Linked DNA regions of Homo sapiens: region 1 is linked to region 2. The links are contacts of gene promoters, found by promoter capture Hi-C in human tissues and cell types (Jung and others, 2019). All regions are on one chromosome and are shown on one strand. The core of a region is centred on a gene start or on the middle of the fragment in contact, and the rest is flanking DNA. Distances in the headings are between cores, read along the strand shown. Region 1 overlaps FMN1 (formin 1). Region 2 holds the start of GREM1 (gremlin 1, DAN family BMP antagonist).

What was found. The method cuts DNA at HindIII sites, captures the fragments that hold promoters and counts their contacts. A contact is called where the count stands out against the background at its distance.
Region 1: a contact is called between a fragment that was not itself captured here and the fragment with the promoter of GREM1 in region 2, in 1 of the 25 tissues and cell types used here (IMR-90 fibroblasts).

Annotation. Positions count from the first base shown.
Region 1 is chr15:32,764,739-32,767,438 of GRCh38, reverse strand. It overlaps FMN1 (formin 1), which reads left to right. Exons shown (of 21, transcript NM_001277313.2): 21 at 1-1,895. Among named protein-coding and RNA genes, the nearest start is that of GREM1-AS1, 47 kb to the right of the region's middle. The HindIII fragment of the contact is 6,406 bases long and covers 1-2,700 here.
Region 2 is chr15:32,716,694-32,719,393 of GRCh38, reverse strand. It overlaps GREM1 (gremlin 1, DAN family BMP antagonist), which reads right to left and starts at 1,390. Exons shown (of 2, transcript NM_013372.7): 1 at 1,233-1,390. It overlaps GREM1-AS1 (GREM1 antisense RNA 1), which reads left to right and starts at 529. Exons shown (of 2, transcript NR_109767.1): 1 at 529-849; 2 at 1,030-1,293. RefSeq lists enhancers at 90-667, 668-1,246, 1,384-1,884. The HindIII fragment of the contact is 12,229 bases long and covers 1-2,700 here.

The DNA of each region.
Region 1 (2,700 bases), core at 100-2,599, 48 kb before region 2:
GGCCTGCATGCCTAGAACCTGAGTGAAGGCAGTCAACATCCTAGTATGAATCAGACCTAGCAGAAATGTAAATTATTTCAAGTACTTCAGGGTTTAGTTTTCTTAGTGACACCCTGGACCCTGGATGCTGCTTTCTAAAGTGCACCTGATCCATGCAGTTTTATGTCTTCATATAACTGGTATCTTGTGAGTTTGCAAGCAATGGGATGAGCAAGAAAAAAAGGACGCATGGAGGAGAAAAATTTGAACGAGGCTAGTGCAATGTTTTGCTGATAGATTACATTGTTAGGGAGCTGGTGATTTTTTGCCATGGTCGTATCGTGGACAGCTTTTCCGTGGAAATTCAAGGCATCTGTATTAGGCAAATGTGAGTGCCCTTGATCTTGTATTGATCAGTGCCAATGTACTGGGAAAGCAGGTACCCCAGTGAAACTGGTCTGTGCTTGGTTTAACAGCTCCAACAATTTCAGATCCATGGGGCTGCTTGACCATAGACCCTGTTTACTCCATGCCTGTTCAAAAGTCATTTTGACTTCTAGCTTTGTTTCACTTTCTTCTTTCAATACTTCTGTTTCCTCGTCCTTTTCCTTCATATTCCATGGCTATTTCTTTCCTACTTTACAGTTTCCCCCAGACCCAGATTTTTTCACACCTCTGCATCATAGACAACTGAGTAGCTCCCTTGGCCCCTCCTCCATCCTCTCACACCCTGTGCTCCGTTCCTCAGCCGTTTGGACAGGGAGCTCCGCTGTCACCAAGGAGCCCATGTGAGACACACTGCTGTGACTGCCTCTTGTTAATGTCAGCATCACCTCATCACTTAAGCAAAAAGGAAAATCCATAAAAGAGATGGAAAATACGTCTCTTTTTATTTTATTTTAAGAAGATTGGGCGGGGTGGGGGGGGGGTTCTTATTCTAGGCCTTCTCAATTTCTCATAGATTTTACCTTAAACTAATTAAGGCCATTCTCTTGATAAATTTGTACATCAGACCGGGTCACCAGCTATGATGCAGAACGCCAGATTTTTGAATCTCAAGTAACTTTCTGTGGTGCTGGACAAATTGACTTAATTCTGTGCAGGCAAACACTTTGAATCATAAGGATTTTTATTGCCGCTCCATTCTTACTACTATTCATGATTCAAACATCTACCCCTGTTCTGAATCAGGATGTTGACACTTCTTGGTTATTTTCAGATGAACAGTAACTGCTACACTCTTGAAAGCACTTAAAAGTGCAAGCATGTCCTAAATAGCCATTTAACCTGGTAAAACATAGGCTTTTCTGTTTAATTAAGTATTAGACCAGTCTGTAGATATAATCTGAAAAGATTGTAGGCAGTAATGAAGACAGTTGGGGAAAGGAGAAGGCCCTTTAAAGACATGAAACCTTACACGCTCTTGGGATATTTTTAAGCATAATAAGCTCATTGGATTCAGGTATTTTTCCCTTTGCATTTTTAAAAATACGTATTTCTAATTTGTTTGCATATTTAATTTTGTCAAAGCTGAGAAATGCTCATGAGTTGAATTTATAAATGTCATTTGCAACCAAATGAAGTATTTATTTTTAAAAAGAGAGTGAAGGAACCAACACTGATTTGTACATAATAAAAATGTGTGTATTATATATATATATTTTTTCCTCCTTGACAGTACTTGGTCACAATATCAAGTGTATTTTTGTACATAATATATATTGATTAGAAAAACGTCAATTGTCTATTCAAAAAATTCTATCTCTGTGATAGATTATATTTATCCTAATCTGTTGATACCTCTGTTAATTTGTTTTAAGAGAATTATATTTTTTGGAATTTACAGAGAATTGCATTCATGGCTTTCAATTGTAAATATGCTAAGGGTATTTTAATAAATCTTGGTTTCATGTCCATCTGGTGTGCAATGCAGATTTGTTTTCAGGAGGCATGTAAAGCAATATCCCAGTAGTACTGTAATGTGGAGAACACCAGTCATTTCTAACTTGCGTTACCACTCGGGTACACTATTCTGAGCTGCAAGAGCTGAGTCTGAGGAAGTCTATCGTTGGTATTTCCGTTTTTCTCCCATTTGTCCCCTATCAACTGTGGGCAACTTGGCCAGACATTCAAGGCTAACAACCAACAGACAAAACCAGCCAGGCATTGTCTCAACAAGGCTTACCCAAAAGCAACACTTCCTGAATATACATTGCCCAAGGGACGGGGCACAAAGAGATTGGTGACTTCAGGCTATAGGTTGAAAATAATAAACTGGAGAAACAGAATAGAAACATAATTGTATGGATTCTTTTACTAAGCACAAGGTACACATTCTTTTCAAGGAATAATATGAAGCATGCAGGTATTTTATAAACATAAAACACTTTAAGCAAAACAGTCTTCTATTTAAATACAAATGTAATTGTGCTTTTTAGTTAATTCATTTCTTTGGTGTTCCTGAATGCCGTACGCTACAGTTCTAGATATTTGCTGCAATATACCCTATTATGTATAGCAATGTTTAATGAACATACATAGTTATTATCTAGGAAGACATTTCACCACTACAAAATCTTCTAAATCATAGTCAGTGAGCTGCAAAAATCTTTGGACATTGGAGAAAATATCTCAGTAAAACTTCTGAAGTTCAAGGGAATTGCTAAAAATCACACTTACTGTTGGTGAACACTTCAAGACTAGAACCCAGATTTCTTGACA
Region 2 (2,700 bases), core at 141-2,640:
GCTGGTCACCTGCCGTCCGTCCCTCCCCGCCTGGCCCGGTGACCGTCGCCAGAGCCTGGCGCAGGCAAATAAACGCCAAGCTGGGGCACCCCCAAGGAGGAGCTGCGATCCGAAGGCAATGCCAAGCGAGAGCGGTGGCGCGTCTGTTCTTCCGGAGTCTGTAGTCTACAAATAACTCCGGCCAGCAAGGAGGTGACAGCCCCAATATACCTCCCACTCCCCTGCTATGGCCTTGCTCCGCAAGCTGTGGAGGGGCCAGCGGAGCCAGCCAGGCAGCGAGAGAGAACGAAAGACGCCCAGCTCGTTGCAGCCGCCAACCCGCCTCAGCCGCCAGTCCCTAGTCCTCAGGAGCTAGTGAGGCGCTGCAAGGCGAGGCTGGGGCCTCTAGAACACAGTTTAAGGGGTGCGCGCGGAAGTGGGAACCAGCCGGTGGCCGCTGCCCGGCGCCAGAACGTCTACCATTCAGCCCGGGCGTGCGCGGGGCGGGGAAGAGGCTGGAGTAGAGAAGCGAGCGCCCGCGAGTGCGTGGCCGGTCCGCGAGCGCGTGTGGTGTCTGCCTTGTGAGCACTGCGGGTTCGCTGGACCCCGCGGCCAGGGCCGCGCCCCGCACCGCAGCTGTCGGATTACCCACCGTTCGGTTTTCCGCTGTGGCTGAACACAGCGGCTCTGCCCTTGCCAGTCTCCATCTCACCTCGGGGATCGGCAAATGCACACATCATGGATTCTCCGGATGCTCCAACCCGCGGACTCCAATGGGCGCCCCAAGACGCCCCCAGACCCAGCGCGGCGCCCCAAGCACATGGGACCCTCTCAAGGCAACTCGCCGCGCAGTCAGCGGCCGACTAGCAGGTCCGGATGCTCCTGCGCTCTGGCGGCCTGGACTTCGCGCCCTCGCTAAGCGGGCGCGTCTGCCAGGCGCTGCTGCCACCAGCACCAGGAGCGTGTTCGGGGGCCTCCGGGAGGTGGAAACGGGATGTGGGGGTCATCCTGCCCGCTCCTGACAACTTTTTTTCCTACGTTTCCCTGCAGACCCAGAGCAGCGAGGTCACGGTGTCCGCGGCCTCAGCAGGAAGGACCCCGCGATGGTTCTTCACAATTCACCCCCGCGAACAACGCACCCGAGCCTGCGCGCACGGAGGGCTGCCGCGCGTGGAACTGAGCGGGTCCTGGGTTGGTTTGCGGCCCTCTTCCCTCCGCCCACTCACATCCCTGCCGGGTGCGTCCGCGCTCACCTGTCAGTGCGGCGGGTCCTCGGGGCCTGCGCTTTCGACGCGTGGCGCTGAGTGCGGCCGCGGCCAGAGCCGCCGGGGCTCGGCGCGGGGTCAGCGGGACCGAGAGTGACGCGGCGGCCGTGCACTGGGTCGCCCGGTCCGCGGAAGGCGCACCGAGTGCCAGGCATCGCGCCGTCTCCCGTTTAAATGCCGGCGGCAGAGCGCGGCGCCCGGGGCCGCGCCTCTCCATTGGCCAGGCGCCGCCGCCGCCGCCAGACCCGCTATCCGCCCCCTTTCCCGGTACTGCCCCCGCCCCCCGCACCCCTCCTGCTTCCCCGCGGGGTCCCCTCTCCGCCCGCCTCGCCTCTTTGTCTGCTCCCCCCGCCCGGGCCGGCTGGGAGAGGTCACCCCAGGGAACCGCGCCTGGAATGCACAGCAAATCACATTTTCCGCTCCCGTTGGAGAGGGAAGAGCGGGAGGAAATCCCCCCGGCTGGCGGCCCCTCATTCCTTCTCTGCCCCAGGTCTGGGCTTTCCCTGTCGGCCGCCCGGCATCGCCTGCGTTGGTCCCGCGCTCAGTAGCGGAGACTGCGCTGGGAAGAGCGAGATCTCCGTGGGATCGTGCCAGATTCGGCCATTCTTCCCCTCTGGAGGGAACGGGACTGCGGGATGCTCTGGTCGAGCGGCCGTCGTGGCTCCCCGGCGGCCCCGCCCGAGGCCCCCAACTTCGAGGGCGCTGACCCCGGCGCCCCCGTTAACCTGGCGGGCTCGCTGGCCGCCAGCAGGAGCCTGTCGCCAACATGACACCCTGCTCTCCTCGCCCGCCAAGGGTTCTTTCAGCCCAGATGCCGGCGGCCTCCCCTGTGAGTGTACAGAGGGGAGTCACGGGAGGAGAATAAAACTAAATGACCGTCAAAAGTCAAGGCTTCTGTTCCTAAATTATCTTAAGAGACAGAGAGAAAACAGCCACTGGGCGAGAGGGGTTTTCTGTAGCATATCAAAGACGAATAAGTCAGGAAAATAAAACGTTAGATGAGGAAGTAACTTCCCAGAAATTTAGGACAAAAACCTACCGACGTGTAAAACCAATGTCACATTCCGGATACCAAGTACATAAATAGTTTTCGAAAGATGAGCGAACACTTTCATTTGTTCTCTTAGCCTGAAAAATTGGTTCCTCAAAGAGGCCGTAAGTTTTGTGTGTTGAAGCTAAAGTCCGTGCAAAAATTAACACGTCTGCAAGATCTGCAGACCAGCTCCATCAGCCACGTCAAATGAAGACTTTGAAAAAGATTTGCTACAGAAGGAAATATGAAGGTGTCTGTATTGTCTAACGCGAAATAAACAAAACAATGAAATCCATCAAAAGATACTTACGAAACACCCGTAATTTAAGTACTTGACTAGGAAAACAAAACCAGACCAGAAAACAGCCTATTTTTTTTTTCTCTTTAGTCCGGCGTTAGGGGGAAGAAGCAAGAAACATCTAC